Linked DNA regions of Homo sapiens: all the other regions are linked to region 1. Evidence: promoter capture Hi-C in 16 types of primary human blood cells and fetal thymus (Javierre and others, 2016). All regions are on one chromosome and are shown on one strand. Each heading gives the region's core, a stretch centred on a gene start or on the middle of the fragment in contact. The rest is flanking DNA. Distances are from core to core; before and after follow the strand shown. Region 1 holds the start of EIF4A1 (eukaryotic translation initiation factor 4A1). Region 2 holds the start of DLG4 (discs large MAGUK scaffold protein 4). Region 3 holds the start of DVL2 (dishevelled segment polarity protein 2). Region 4 holds the start of SLC2A4 (solute carrier family 2 member 4).

The links. The method cuts DNA at HindIII sites, captures the fragments that hold promoters and counts their contacts. A CHiCAGO score of 5 or more calls a contact.
Region 2: a contact is called between the fragment with the promoter of DLG4 here and the fragment with the promoter of EIF4A1 in region 1, in 10 of 17 cell types (activated CD4 T cells, non-activated CD4 T cells, naive CD8 T cells and 7 more). The highest score is 9.9, in activated CD4 T cells.
Region 3: the fragment with the promoter of DVL2 here is called in contact with the fragment with the promoter of EIF4A1 in region 1 in 16 of 17 cell types (naive B cells, fetal thymus, total CD4 T cells and 13 more); the score reaches 17.0 in naive B cells.
Region 4: a contact is called between the fragment with the promoter of SLC2A4 here and the fragment with the promoter of EIF4A1 in region 1, in 3 of 17 cell types (total CD4 T cells, non-activated CD4 T cells and fetal thymus). The highest score is 5.8, in total CD4 T cells.

The regions. Positions count from the first base shown.
Region 1 is chr17:7,571,037-7,574,603 of GRCh38, forward strand. EIF4A1 (eukaryotic translation initiation factor 4A1) reads left to right here and starts at 1,789. Exons shown (of 11, transcript NM_001416.4): 1 at 1,789-1,828; 2 at 3,224-3,272; 3 at 3,510-3,567. The coding sequence starts at 1,806. It overlaps SENP3 (SUMO specific peptidase 3), which reads left to right. Exons shown (of 11, transcript NM_015670.6): 11 at 337-933. The coding sequence ends at 447. It overlaps SENP3-EIF4A1 (SENP3-EIF4A1 readthrough (NMD candidate)), which reads left to right. Exons shown (of 22, transcript NR_037926.1): 11 at 337-443; 12 at 1,248-1,828; 13 at 3,224-3,272; 14 at 3,510-3,567. RefSeq lists enhancers at 1,127-1,186, 1,217-1,266, 1,287-1,346, 1,467-1,536, 2,043-2,798 and 2 more and silencers at 1,707-1,766, 1,777-1,836, 2,737-2,876. The HindIII fragment of the contact is 10,998 bases long and covers 1-3,483 here.
Region 2 is chr17:7,215,695-7,219,261 of GRCh38, forward strand. DLG4 (discs large MAGUK scaffold protein 4) reads right to left here and starts at 1,933. Exons shown (of 20, transcript NM_001321075.3): 1 at 1,424-1,933. The coding sequence starts at 1,453. It also overlaps a transcript of ACADVL not described here. RefSeq lists an enhancer at 1-263. The HindIII fragment of the contact is 10,481 bases long and covers 1-3,567 here.
Region 3 is chr17:7,232,467-7,236,033 of GRCh38, forward strand. DVL2 (dishevelled segment polarity protein 2) reads right to left here and starts at 2,051. Exons shown (of 15, transcript NM_004422.3): 1 at 1,603-2,051. The coding sequence starts at 1,796. PHF23 (PHD finger protein 23) reads right to left here. Exons shown (of 5, transcript NM_024297.3): 4 at 3,464-3,567; 5 at 2,572-3,374. The coding sequence ends at 3,160. RefSeq lists a silencer at 1,789-2,088 and an enhancer at 2,199-2,248. The HindIII fragment of the contact is 14,867 bases long and covers 1-3,567 here.
Region 4 is chr17:7,280,468-7,284,034 of GRCh38, forward strand. It overlaps SLC2A4 (solute carrier family 2 member 4), which reads left to right and starts at 1,251. Exons shown (of 11, transcript NM_001042.3): 1 at 1,251-1,500; 2 at 2,778-2,894; 3 at 3,006-3,178; 4 at 3,271-3,395; 5 at 3,507-3,567. The coding sequence starts at 1,468. RefSeq lists a silencer at 1,215-1,364 and an enhancer at 1,497-2,484. The HindIII fragment of the contact is 20,977 bases long and covers 1-3,567 here.

The DNA of each region.
Region 1 (3,567 bases), core at 539-3,038:
AGCAGGAAGTAATCTGTTTTAGAACACCAAAACACTGGCTTCACTGGTTCTCTTCTGGACTTCTCCATCCCACATTGGGACTGGGTCTCTAGTCTTGGGCCTCTGGCCTTCATAGAGCTCCCTGCTAACCTCCAACTCAGTGTATTTTCTCCATCTAAAACATTCTATCAAGTAAGAACACTAGCTTTAGAGTCAGGCTGTTTTTGAACCCCAGGCTGTGGGACCCTGGCTCCCTTTGGGGATGTTCTCTGAAGGATGGAGACACATCTCATATGAAATGTGTAGCACAGGTCCTGACACGGGGGGTTTCTCATGGCTTGCTTTGTTAACACCCAGTACTGCAAGCATCTGGCCCTGTCTCAGCCATTCAGCTTCACCCAGCAGGACATGCCCAAACTTCGTCGGCAGATCTACAAGGAGCTGTGTCACTGCAAACTCACTGTGTGAGCCTCGTACCCCAGACCCCAAGCCCATAAATGGGAAGGGAGACATGGGAGTCCCTTCCCAAGAAACTCCAGTTCCTTTCCTCTCTTGCCTCTTCCCACTCACTTCCCTTTGGTTTTTCATATTTAAATGTTTCAATTTCTGTATTTTTTTTTCTTTGAGAGAATACTTGTTGATTTCTGATGTGCAGGGGGTGGCTACAGAAAAGCCCCTTTCTTCCTCTGTTTGCAGGGGAGTGTGGCCCTGTGGCCTGGGTGGAGCAGTCATCCTCCCCCTTCCCCGTGCAGGGAGCAGGAAATCAGTGCTGGGGGTGGTGGGCGGACAATAGGATCACTGCCTGCCAGATCTTCAAACTTTTATATATATATATATATATATATATATATATATATATATATATATATATATATATATATATATATATATATAAAAATATATAAATGCCACGGTCCTGCTCTGGTCAATAAAGGATCCTTTGTTGATACGTAAGTGGTGGTCTTCCTTAAGGGGCTTCAAATTAGTGGATATGCTTAGCTCAGACCTTCCAGCCAGTCTCTTGAGACTAAAGGGTTCAGCTTTCCATCCCTGGCTCAGGCACTGCCAACACCTTGTCTTCACCCAAACAAATCCCCGAGATGGGAGCAGAGAGCAGGAAGGAGGGAAAGTAGATAAGCCTCAAGAATAAGGGCATCCGAGAGGGAAGCTGGGGAACTGGACACAAGGGACTGGGGAGGGGACCAACCAGGATTCATGATAGTACCCCAAAGCCCTTTACAGTTTTCTTCCATCCCTCCACCATCCAGCCAGGGGAATCCTCCCATCCCTACGATATCGCTGTTGATTCCTTCATCCCTGGCACACGTCCAGGCAGTGTCGAATCCATCTCTGCTACAGGGGAAAACAAATAACATTTGAGTCCAGTGGAGACCGGGAGCAGAAGTAAAGGGAAGTGATAACCCCCAGAGCCCGGAAGCCTCTGGAGGCTGAGACCTCGCCCCCCTTGCGTGATAGGGCCTACGGAGCCACATGACCAAGGCACTGTCGCCTCCGCACGTGTGAGAGTGCAGGGCCCCAAGATGGCTGCCAGGCCTCGAGGCCTGACTCTTCTATGTCACTTCCGTACCGGCGAGAAAGGCGGGCCCTCCAGCCAATGAGGCTGCGGGGCGGGCCTTCACCTTGATAGGCACTCGAGTTATCCAATGGTGCCTGCGGGCCGGAGCGACTAGGAACTAACGTCATGCCGAGTTGCTGAGCGCCGGCAGGCGGGGCCGGGGCGGCCAAACCAATGCGATGGCCGGGGCGGAGTCGGGCGCTCTATAAGTTGTCGATAGGCGGGCACTCCGCCCTAGTTTCTAAGGATCATGTCTGCGAGCCAGGATTCCCGGTAAGAAAGGCATTTGCAAGAGATTGTGGCTGCTTATTTTGCCGCCCCCTTCCGACGGGCCCGCCGGGGGTAGCTGAGAGGCCCACCAGGGTTGCGGGAGAAACCGAACCGGGTGGGGGGAGGGTCCGACTTGGAGGGGCGAGGGGGAAGACCCACGGCCGACGCGGCCACCAGGTCGAGGCGGAGGGTAGGGACAGCCCGGCTAGGGTCAGGCGTGCGAGGTCTGTTACGAGGCCTCGACCCGAGGCGGTGCCATGCGCGAAGCCCCGGCGCTGAGTGGCGAGACGGGGTCGCGACCTGGCGTGGGAAAGAAAGGTGGAGGCGGCCGCCACTATGTGTGGCCCAGAGCCGGCAGGTCCGGTTGCCTCCCTGTGCCGGGGGAGGGACGGCGCGCGGGGTTCCGGAGCATTCTGACGGTACCACTCGCGAGAGGCGGGGGTGCCTGGTCCTTAGATCCAGTCACTTCGTCGCGGCTAAAACACGGGTCGGGGAGAAGAAACCGGCCGTTCAGTGTGCTGGTTTTCTTGACGGCCAGGACTGAGCCTAACCCCGAGGAGCGGCCGCGTGAGGCACCAGGAGCCCACCCGGCGCCGGGCGGGCGGGTCCATTTTGCCGCACAAGCCGGGCTATTGGCAAACTGCGGATGGGCAGGTCCACCTTCCTTCGGGGGTGAGCGGCCTGAGGTATGGGAGGGCGACGCTACTTCGCGACGGGGGCGGGCGGGATGTGGATTGTTCATGGAGGGGTGGGAGACGCCGCCGGGTGGTCGAGGGAGCGAGCACATGGTGGCCTGAGGCGTTCCCCTCCCCCAGTCTGCTTCGCTTCTAAGTGTTGTGCAATCTCCCCCTTTGCTAGCTCGGCTTGGGCTCATTGTGCGCGAGGCCGCCACCGCCCGCGGCCTCCCACATCCGGGCAACGCGAGGGGGGGGCTTCGGCTGGAGGGAGTGGGGGAGGGCGCGGGCGGGATGACGTGGGGGGAAGGGGATGTCCTACCCTCCGATCTGGGAGGTGAAGGGCGGGACTTCCAGCGCGCTGGTGCTGCGGTGGGAGGTGCACGCGCTTGGGCTTTAAGCGGCTGGGTCGGGCCCACGTGGACCCGGCGGCAAGCACCACCTCTGGGCACCGTGAGCGCGGCGGCACGCCTGCCGGCCTGTCTTCAGAAAGGGTCACCCCCTTATGTCGGGGGTGGCCTGGCCTGAGCCGCTGCCTGCATGGGGCAAATGCCTCAGTTTTATAGAAACTCCTCCTTTGGGTATTTTTTGGGAGCTGGTGGGAGTTGGATCTGGGACAGCAGATTGATGGCATCATGCAGGCCACTCCTGACAGAGCCCGGCTGTCAGGATTTCTGAGTGCTTCGGTCGGGCAGGGGACAAAACTTATGCTTTAAACCAACAGATCCAGAGACAATGGCCCCGATGGGATGGAGCCCGAAGGCGTCATCGAGGTGAGACTGGAGAAATGGAATTCTGTCCTCCCCCATTACAACTTTCAGCCGTATAGAGTTAGAGTGGCCTCTTGATTGATTTCCCAGATCATCTAGAAGCAGCTGGTTTCCCTAAAGGGAGGAGGGTTGTAAGCTCTGAGGCTTTTGTTAGTAGGCACCAGATTCTGTTTGCTCGGAGACTACAGCTCAGCTCCACCTTTTCCATGACTCAAGCTTTAATTTCTTTGCATCCCCTAGAGTAACTGGAATGAGATTGTTGACAGCTTTGATGACATGAACCTCTCGGAGTCCCTTC
Region 2 (3,567 bases), core at 683-3,182, 360 kb before region 1:
TCCTCAGCCCCCAATCTCTTCCAACCATCCTCACACGTGCACAATGCATGTGTACACACATGTGTGAGTTTGTGGCAGGGAACATGTGTGTCCTCAGCTCCCTCCCATGAAAAGCTGCAGTTCCCACTAAATATAACCCCCTCCCCAGCCTGTGACTCACCCGGACCCCGCCTCCCCCGGCCCCCACTTCCTGTCCCACCCCCCAGCCCCCAGCTGCCTGCCACCCGCCCAAGCCTCCCTCCACACACCAGGCATCCAGCTCTCCAGTCCCAGAGTCTCCAAGGAGAGCCTAGGTATCTGCATCCCACCAGGAGCTCGCCTGTGCTCCATCCGAGATCTCCTGCCTTTGCCAGGCTCCAACCAGAGGGACACTCTTGCACAGATCCCCATCGCTGCCAGCCCTGCCCTCCTCCTACACCTTTTCACCCCAGTAACCTCAGTAACTTCGGTCATAAGCCCTCAGGGACCCTTAAATCCAGGTGTCCTCCCCCACCTTGATCCCAAGCGTCAGGGGTATCTGGAACAGTCCCCACATCTGCTCTTCTCCCTCTCTCTTGATCAGGGCTAGATACAGTGTGGGAGGAGATGGGGATATTGGGCACCTGCCTTTGGGCCACCCCCAAATTGTGCACCACCCACCCGGTCCCCCTCCTCAAATCCCCTCTCTCCCTAAGCCTCTCATCCTCCTCCTCAGGGGCTGGCAAGCTCGGCTGCTGCAATCTTCTGCCTCCTATGGGAGTACCCCCAAATCCTTGCCTCACCTGGTCCATTCCCTCAGGTGATCCCATGCCAGGGCCCCAGCCCTCTGACAACTTCCAACTACCTCCATTCTATATGACTGAACCCTAAATTAACAGTTCCCTCAAATTGAGAGAGCATCCCTAAATGCAGCCACCACGAGATGCTTGTTCTAGAGTCTGAAGGCCCACCCCTTCCCTGCCAGCTGACACCCCCAGATCAGTCAGGCACTCACAACCAATAACCTTTACCCCATGCCAGGAGCCCCCCAAAACTGGACAAGGCCCTTGGAAGCCAGCTTTTCCCTGGGGAGGAAAGAGGAACCCCCCAACATAGCCCACCTTCCCACATACACCAGCAGGACTCCCTTATGAGCCAGGCTTCTCCTTAAATAAGTCTCCCTCAAACAGCGCTGATGAACCCCCAAACCCGCCAGGCCCCCCGAACCATGGAATATCCTAAATTTTCCATATCCCTACAGGTACAAAGGGATCACTCCAGGGGGCACCTGTGGCCAAATCCTGCATTTTCTCAGATGTGAACCCCAAAACTAAATTAAGACCCCCAAATACATCTTACTTCTGATGCTGCCACTCCAGGGGCGCCAGTCCCAGATAAGGCCTACTAACCCCTCCCCACAAACTCATACCCTCCCCCCAGTTTATAGCCCCCCCATCATGCTTACCTTGGTTGTCACTATACAGAGACAGTCCATGTTGGGGGGCCTGGCCGCGGCGGCGGGTAAGGGGCTCTGACTTCATCGGAGTTTCGTTCCTCCCCTCCGTGGGTTCTCACCCCTCCCCCCTCCGCACCCCACTTTTGCAGGGGGGGCCAGGATGGGGGGAGGGGTGAGAGGGGAAGGAGGGGGTTGGAGAAGGGAAGGGGAGGGGAGCGTGGGAGGGAGGGGAAGGGGGCCCTAAAAGGGGCTCCCCAGTGGAGGGGAGGGGGCTTGGGGAGCACACCCCGATTCTCAGGAGGGGCGGGGGCACCGGGGGCTGGCAGCCCCGGAGTTCGGGGGCTGGGGCATGAGCTGGGGTGGGGGAGGGGAACTGGATTTCGGGGAGCCCCGGGGTAGGGGGGGGTCTTGCCAAACGGCCAGGGGCTAGGGGCCGTGGCGGGGGAGTGGGGTGGGGGGGTTGGAAACGGCAGCGGCCGAGGGAGCCGTGGAGCCGAAGAGGGAAGGGGAGAGAGGAGGAGAGAGGAAGCAGGGGGAGGGAGGGAGGGAGCTAGGAGCCAGAATGGGGGGGGTGCCTTGGCAGAGTTAACTCCTTCTGTGCTGGCAGGAACCCGGATAATGGGAAAGGAGATAGAAGCAGAAGCACAGAGGCCCCTGAGGCAAACATGGAGACCTGGCCAGCCACCAGCGATGACAGCAAAGACGATGAGGCTGGATTTCATTTCTTAGAGAAGGAAGCATCTATAGTTGGGCTGGGAGCACCCACGGTTATTTGAATACGGGAGGGAGGCCTCTCGGCAGGCGGTAGGGGGTCGGGTGTGAGGGAGGAGCTGAAGGAGGCAATCCCTGGGGGCCTAGTTCTCCCTCAGGTTTCTCAGGGGGAAACCTAAAAAGTTAAGCCCTAGACTCTTTAGTGCCTGAAACTGGGGCAGCCAAAGAAAACGAGGAAGAAAGGGAGAGTGGGTACAGGACCACAGAGAGTGCATTCTCGGTGCCCCAAGTCCCTGGGCCACTGACTCAGGCTTTTGTCAGCAGGGCCCCCAAGATTCCAGGTAATATTAGTGATATTTGGCTCACCCCTCCAGCCCTGCCTGCCCCTCAGGAAGTTAGGCGCTCGCCCCCACCTCCTTACCTGACTCTCTGAGAGGGAAGCCTCATAATAGTCCAGGATGTCTGTCACAGGAACAGAACTGAGTTACCTCCCCACCCCAGGCCTCTCCAGGCACATCACCCCTGTCATCACCGCTGCTGGCTGGCTGGCAAGGGAGGAGCCCTTTCAGCCAAGGCTGGTCCACACTCATGGAGGACACCATAGGCAGGACCCTGCATGGTGCTCCAGCTTGGACCAAATGATCTCTGGGCTCCCAAACAGCCCCCGAAGTTCAGTAATGGCCCTTGGAGGCCCAGGTCCCTCAGAAAACGGGCTACTCACCCAGCAAGGCCTGGAAGAGGTCGCTATGCAGCACTGTGAGGAGTGGGGGTGCCCACCGCAGCAGTGGGGGTGCCAGGAGCCAGAGGGCTGACCTGGGAGCTAGTGAGATGCAAGGAGAATTGGGACAGGGAAGATGCCAACACAGGAAGATGAACACACTGTCACTTCATCTCCCCAGACTGTGCCCTTCACCCCAGCCCCTACGGAAAGATTTGGGGAGAAGGATCTCCGAGCCCCAGCCCCCCACTTCGCTCCCAGACCTCCCCTCCACAAGGAGCCCTGTTTTTCACCTCTTGGTCTCTGGGACATCTCTCTCTTCTCTCACTTTAATCTCCCTAATCCTCCAGGATTGGAGTTGAGCTGCTTCTCCCCACTAAATTCCAGCTGTGAGTAAAGTAGGCCGTCTCTGAGCCGACCAGCTGTCCCATTCCCCCAGGTCCCAAGGCACCAGCACCGCCACCATCTTGCTCCACACACCCTGGCCCCCTCTTCCCATAGGCAGGCAGAACCTAGCCACGCTCTCCTGAGAAGCCAGCAAAGAGGGCCTCCTCACAGAGGGCTCCAGCAGCTCAAAAAGAAGCTGAGCCCAGCTCTCTCTCCTCCTGGGCCTCCTCTCACCCCAATGAGAATTGCAGAAAAAGGGGTAGAAATTGTTTGGGACTTCCTGCCCTAGGGCTAGAGAAGTTGGGGTTTTACGGGTAAGAGGCAGGAGAATTCCTGC
Region 3 (3,567 bases), core at 801-3,300, 340 kb before region 1:
TGTATCACCATAACCTACTTTACAGAGTGGTCAGCCTCAATGCTAATTACAATTACCATTCACCAAGAATTTCCCGTGTGCCACACACGTGAACTAACCATTTCATTCTGTGATTTTCTCCATGTCACAGATGAGATCAAGACACAAAATTTAAATAAATTGTCCAAGATTACATTGCTGACAACTAGAAAAACCTTGCCTTAAAGCCAAGATAACTCCCAAGATAGTATCAGCATCCCCATGTCAAACAATCTTTCTAGCTAGAGTCCAGTTTGTTCAGTTCTTCTAAAACCCATGCTATCCCAACTTAATCCAGCCTGCCTTCAAAAAAGCAGAGGTTGGGCCGGGCGCGGTGGCTCACGCCTGTAATCCCAGCACTTTGGGAGGCTGAGGCGGGCGAATCACGAGGTCAGAAGTCAGAGACCAGTCTGGCTAAAACGGTGAAACCCCGTCTCTACTAAAAAATACAAAAAATTAGCCGGGTGTGGTGGCGGACGCCTGTAGTCCCAGCTACTTGGGAGGCTGAGGCAGGAGAATGGCGTGGACCCGGGAGGCAGAGCTTGCAGTGAGCTGAGAATGCGCCACTGCACTCCAGCCTGGGCGACAGAGCGAGACTGTCTCAAAAAAAAAAAAAAAAAAAAGCAGAGGTTGAGGACCCAGAAGGCTCAGCCCCAAAGACCATAAACACAAAAGGGCTTTCTCTGCATTATTTACACGCCAATCTAGTCCAAGATAGCCCTGAATGTCCCAAATTACCCTAGGATAGCCCAATCTATTCTAGCACAGCCTACAATGCCCCCACACGCAGCTGTCTGCACCAGTCTAGATTGGAACATCCCAATACGGCTGCCTGTGCTAGCACAGGCCCCAACAGCCTTGTCTGCCCCTATACCGAGTGCTCCAATAAAACCAAGTCTTGCCCCAAGAGAAACCAGGATTAACCAATACAACCCAGTAGAGTCCATAATGGCCCAAGTGTTTTTTGTTTTTTTTCTGAGACGGAGTCTCGCACTGTCGCCCAGGCTGGAGTGCAGTGGCGCGATCTCGGCTCACTGCAACCTCCGCCTCCCAGGTTCAAGAGATTCTCCCTGCTTCAGCCACCCAAGTAGCTGGGACTACAGGCGCGTGCCCCCACGCCCGGCTAATTTTTTGTATTTTTAGTTAGTAGAGATGGGGTTTCACCGTGTTAGCCAGGATGGCCTCGATCTCCTGACCTCGTGATCCGCCCGCCTCAGCCTCCCAAAGTGCTGGGATTACAGGCGTTACAGGACTCCTGAGAACGTACTAAACAACCAGACAATGGATCAATTTACTCAGTACAGACTAGAATACTCCAACATAAACCAGTATGCCCCCACCTATTCCAGTAAAGCCTAATCTTGTCTAATCTGGTTTAGGATATCCTAGTCTGTCCGTGTGCCTCAATCTATCCAAGCATAACCTTGTCCATCCTGGGATAGTCAACCTACCTCAGCATAGTACAATCTGCTCCACCATAGGCCAGAAAATCCCAGTGTGGCCCAAAGTAGACGTGTGCCCCTCCATGTCGCCCAATCCACTCTAGCAAAGCCCCCGCCGGTCCTATCTAGGCCTTGCGCTCACCCGAAATCCTGATCCATAGACTTGAAAAAGTACTTGGCGCCCGCGGGCCGCTGCAGGACGCTCTTGAAATCGCCGAGGGTGATGCGCTCGGCGGGGACAGGGATCTTCACCAGGTAGGGAGTCTCTTCCTCATCCAGGTGGTAAATCACCTTCGTCTCCCCAACCCCACCGCCCCCAGTGCTGCTACCCGCCATGGTCTCGCCCGCGCGCTCCCGGGCTCCACCGCCCACCCAAAGGGCTAATGGCCCCTGCCGCGCCTGCGCACACCCGCAAACCGACGCGCGAGCGCGGACAGGACTGACCCAGTACGGGAGAGAAGCAAAGGGGAAAAAGCACGGATCTGCGAGGGTGGCGGCGGGGGGCGGGCCGCGGGGTGCGACTCAAAGCCCCGGTCTCAGCGGCCGCCGCGCGCCACCGCCACCGACGCCGCGAGCTTCCTCCAGGTACCCGCCCACCTCTCCTCATGTCACGTGACTTAAAGGCAGCCACCCCGCGCTCCTCAGCCGCCCTCCGTCACGTGATCCCCTCCCAATCACGTGACCGTCTGACTCCGCCTAGTGCCCCCGCCACATGATCGCTGCCTTCAGCAACGGTCTCCCAGCCCCCAAACGTGTACCCCAGCCGAGGTCCTCTGAGCACCCAGGCTAAGCTGGCCTGTGCCTTCAGGAAACGGACCATCGGCTCCCACCCCGCTTTACCCCACCCACGATGGAGCACGAAGCAACTCTGACCCGCAGGAGTGTGCGTGCAGGGAGTGAAGGTGGGGACTGTGGGGGTTCCTAGACTCGAGTGGGGAGGGCCAAATACAATGAAAGCTCTAAGGTGGCTTACTTGTCTTGGGGTGGGAAAGGCCCAGTGCTGTGATATCTTCAGATTGGACTTTGAGACGTGGGTTTCAGCCCCACCTCCAGCTAGTCTTCAGCCACCAAAGCCTCCCTCCCGAGCAGGACAGTGAGGGCTATAAACACAAAAGAGCCCACTCTGCTTTATTTACAACACGCAGGCTGTCTGTACAAACAGCGGCCGATATTATTAAAAACAAAAGAGGTGAGTGAGAATCGTCACCTTTCTGCTTTCCTTCCTCACTTGGCCAGGCTCTAGTACTCCACCTTTGAGCTGCCATGCCCAATAGGGGAAGTCCAAAATTAAAAATACAACCGGTGTAGAAGAAAATAAATGGGGAGTGAAATAGAAGAAAAGATGAGGGAGGGGAGTGCTAATATTTACACTAGAGTTTTATAGACAACTGTCCCATTCCATCCCAATTCCAATCCTGACCCAGAAAGTGATGGTGGCAGGTCCAAGAGACAGAGATTATGTGTCGGGACACAGACAGCCTCCCATCCCCAACCGTAATGGATTCAATTTCAAGTCCACAGAGTGGGGAGGAAGGATAGGGTGGGAAAGTGAGACACTCATTTTCAAACAAGTCTCCCTTGAGAATTCCTGCCTTGAAGTGCAGACAGTATCCAAGCTCCAGGGGATAGGCTGAGGACCCTGAGGCTCAGTTCCCAAATCATGTTGTCATTTGGAAGTTCCAGGCTAAAGTTGGTGCCATCAGGGCTCTCCAGATTTGGGAGGCCCCCCTAACCGCCGGGCCTCTGGCCTCAGTTCCTTGCATTTCTGGCAATAAAAGAAGTCGGGGACGTTGGTCTTCTTAATCTTAGCACAGGAGAGGTGGATCCACGTCCCACACAGGCTGCACTCAATCATGGGCCGCCCTGCAAAGGGCTTTCGACAGTAACATGTGATCAGATCCCATGAGTCATCACCTGGGGAAAAAAAGGTTTGTTTGGTATTCTGCCTGAGCTGTTGGATCCACAACACCCTCAAACCCCTCGCCCCAGCCCGAACCTCTCACCTGATTCTACCATGATGTCCTCGTCCATGACCCGCATCTCGCCTTCACTGGAGCTGGCATCTCCATCTTGGCTTGTTTCAGTGCTGCCCACCTCCTTGCTTTCA
Region 4 (3,567 bases), core at 1-2,500, 290 kb before region 1:
AGGAGGAATCGAGCCTGACTTCTACCATAGGGGTGACTGGGCGGGTAATTCATTGAAATAAGGAAGTTAGGAGGAGGAGCAGGTTTGGACATGCTGATCACTAGAGCTGCCACATCCGGGCGGTAACGAACACCTGGATCTGCAGCTCCAGAGAAGGGCCTGGGTCAGATGTCACTGAAGCCCTATGGTGGCGGAAAGGCGAGAAATAGTGGGTTGAGATTCCAAGTGCAATCCACTGCGGCTCCTCGCTCGCCCTCCAGGTGGCAGCACAACCCTGCGCTTCCGAAGCCCGTTTTCTGAGCCAGACACTCTCCACGCTCTGGGTATTTCGGCTTCTCTCTCCCCACACGCCGACCCTAGGTCGCGCACTTTCTGCCTGGCAGAATTTGGCCGAGGATCCAAACCCGGAGCAGCCTCCAGAGAGCGTGTCGTTCACGCGGCCAGCATATGCTCAGAGACCTCAGAGGCTCAGAGACCTCAGGGCTGGTGGTGTGGTCGGTTGTGACCACTTGTCCCTCGGACCGGCTCCAGGAACCAACCTGGGGAATGTGTGTAGGGGAAGGGCGGGATAGACAGTGCCCGGAGCAGGGAGGCGCTGAAAGACAGGACCAAGCAGCCCGGCCACCAGACCCGTTGTGGGAACGGAATTTCCTGGCCCCCAGGGCCACACTCGCGTGGGAAGCATGTCGCGGACTCTTTAAGGCGTCATCTCCCTGTCTCTCCGCCCCCGCCTGGGACAGGCCGGGACGCCCGGGACCTGACATTTGGAGGCTCCCAACGTGGGAGCTAAAAATAGCAGCCCCGGGTTACTTTGGGGCATTGCTCCTCTCCCAACCCGCGCGCCGGCTCGCGAGCCGTCTCAGGCCGCTGGAGTTTCCCCGGGGCAAGTACACCTGGCCCGTCCTCTCCTCTCAGACCCCACTGTCCAGACCCGCAGAGTTTAAGATGCTTCTGCAGCCCGGGATCCTAGCTGGTGGGCGGAGTCCTAACACGTGGGTGGGCGGGGCCTTTTGTTCCAGGGACTCTTTTCTCAAAACTTCCCAGTCGGAGGCTGGCGGGAACCCGAGAGGCGTGTCTCGCCAGCCACGCGGAGGGGCGTGGCCTCATTGGCCCGCCCCACCAACTCCAGCCAAACTCTAAACCCCAGGCGGAGGGGGCGTGGCCTTCTGGGGTGTGCGGGCTCCTGGCCAATGGGTGCTGTGAAGGGCGTGGCCCGCGGGGGCAGGAGCGAGGTGGCGGGGGCTTCTCGCGTCTTTTCCCCCAGCCCCGCTCCACCAGATCCGCGGGAGCCCCACTGCTCTCCGGGTCCTTGGCTTGTGGCTGTGGGTCCCATCGGGCCCGCCCTCGCACGTCACTCCGGGACCCCCGCGGCCTCCGCAGGTTCTGCGCTCCAGGCCGGAGTCAGAGACTCCAGGATCGGTTCTTTCATCTTCGCCGCCCCTGCGCGTCCAGCTCTTCTAAGACGAGATGCCGTCGGGCTTCCAACAGATAGGCTCCGAAGTAGGATTCATCATGAGGGGGCGGGGCGGGGGGGCACGGGTCCCGCTTTTCTTGGGCTGGGGTCGCGGTTGGGGTCAGCTGGGGGTGGTTCCTGCGCAGGCGCAGGGGGTGAAGGTAGGGGGCTGGCTATTTATACCCGGCCTGGACAACCCGTGACTGTGAGATTCCAATCCTACCAAAAGGCAGAGTGGGTCTGGAGGGCCTTTCGGGGCACAGGCAGCAAGTGGATTCTGCGAGCCAGGGTTCACCCCCTTGCCTAGTAGGCGGCGCGGCGCTCCGGAATCGGGGACACCCTGCCCTCGATCCGACTCGGGAAAGCAGATCCAGGCGGGTCTTGCCCTCCGGGAGCTGTCCGTCCGTCTTCGCTCACGGGCAGTGTTTCGAGGACCGGAGGCTCTCCGTGGGCCCCCACCCCCACTCCTGGCCGCCCTCCAGGACGCTGAACTTTCCCTTGGCCCCATGGTTGGTGGAGGGGCAGAGGGGACTGTCAGCCCCCCCTCCTCCAGCTCAGGTTTCCGCTTGGAGACAGTCTGTGCCGCCAGCGAGCGGCCACCACTGCCACCGCCCCTCACACTACCTTCCTGCCCTCCTCCCCTGGGCATGGCTCTCCCAGGCAGAACCCCTGGACGGCCCTCCCTGCACGGAGGTTAGAGGGGGAGGGCAGGCCACGACGTAGATAGAGAAGGCCACCCCTAGATGACCGGGATGTCCTTTCTGGAACAGCACTTCTTGGTCCTGTTGGGGGCCTCCTGGAGCTGGCTGACAGAACCCCCAGAGGGGAGGGAAGAGGACAGTGGCTGATGATAATAATGCACGTGTTAATTTATGAAACCAGCACTGTCAAGGATATTGTTAACATGTGATGTTGATTTTCACAACACTCTCACAGATAGGTAGGCAAGGCAGGCAACATCACCCCCATCTCACAGAGGACACTCAGGTTCGGGGCAGGGAAGTGACTTGGCCAAGGTCACACAAATCTGAGCTCTTAAGGCCAAGCCTGTCTCAAGGTCACAGAAGAATTTTGAGACAAGTTCTCAAACATTTCTCTGCCTTATGGACCCAAACATCCAGTTTCTCCTTTATGCCCAGGTTGCAGTTCAGCTCCTGTTTACATTGAGATCTTTGTGCAATTCCTAATATGGCCCAGTTTCCCTCACCCAACATGTTGGGTGGAGCCCAGTATCTTCAGGCTCCAGCTGGGCCCGGGCCCCTAGCGGAAGGAAAAAAATCATGGTTCCATGTGACATGCTGTGTCTTTGTGTCTGCCTGTTCAGGATGGGGAACCCCCTCAGCAGCGAGTGACTGGGACCCTGGTCCTTGCTGTGTTCTCTGCGGTGCTTGGCTCCCTGCAGTTTGGGTACAACATTGGGGTCATCAATGCCCCTCAGAAGGTGAGGGCCTGCAGCTGGCAGGGTGGGGGTACCCAAACGAGGAGGACAGGTGTCTCGGGGGTGGTGGAAAGGGGACGGTCTGCAGGAAATCTGTCCTCTGCTGTCCCCCAGGTGATTGAACAGAGCTACAATGAGACGTGGCTGGGGAGGCAGGGGCCTGAGGGACCCAGCTCCATCCCTCCAGGCACCCTCACCACCCTCTGGGCCCTCTCCGTGGCCATCTTTTCCGTGGGCGGCATGATTTCCTCCTTCCTCATTGGTATCATCTCTCAGTGGCTTGGAAGGTTCGCAGCTGGAGGGCAGGGGTGGGGGAAACAGGAAGGGAGCCACTGCTGGGTGCCCTCACCCTCACAGCCTCACTCTGTCTGCCTGCCAGGAAAAGGGCCATGCTGGTCAACAATGTCCTGGCGGTGCTGGGGGGCAGCCTCATGGGCCTGGCCAATGCTGCTGCCTCCTATGAAATGCTCATCCTTGGACGATTCCTCATTGGCGCCTACTCAGGTACTCACGGGCACCACAGCCCTGCCTAGCGCCCTGTTCTCTTTCACCATGCCTGGGCTTTCAGATGGGAATGGACACCTGCCCTCAGCCCTCTCTTCTTCCCTCGCCCAGGGCTGACATCAGGGCTGGTGCCCATGTACGTGGGGGAGATTGCTCCCACTCACCTGCGGGG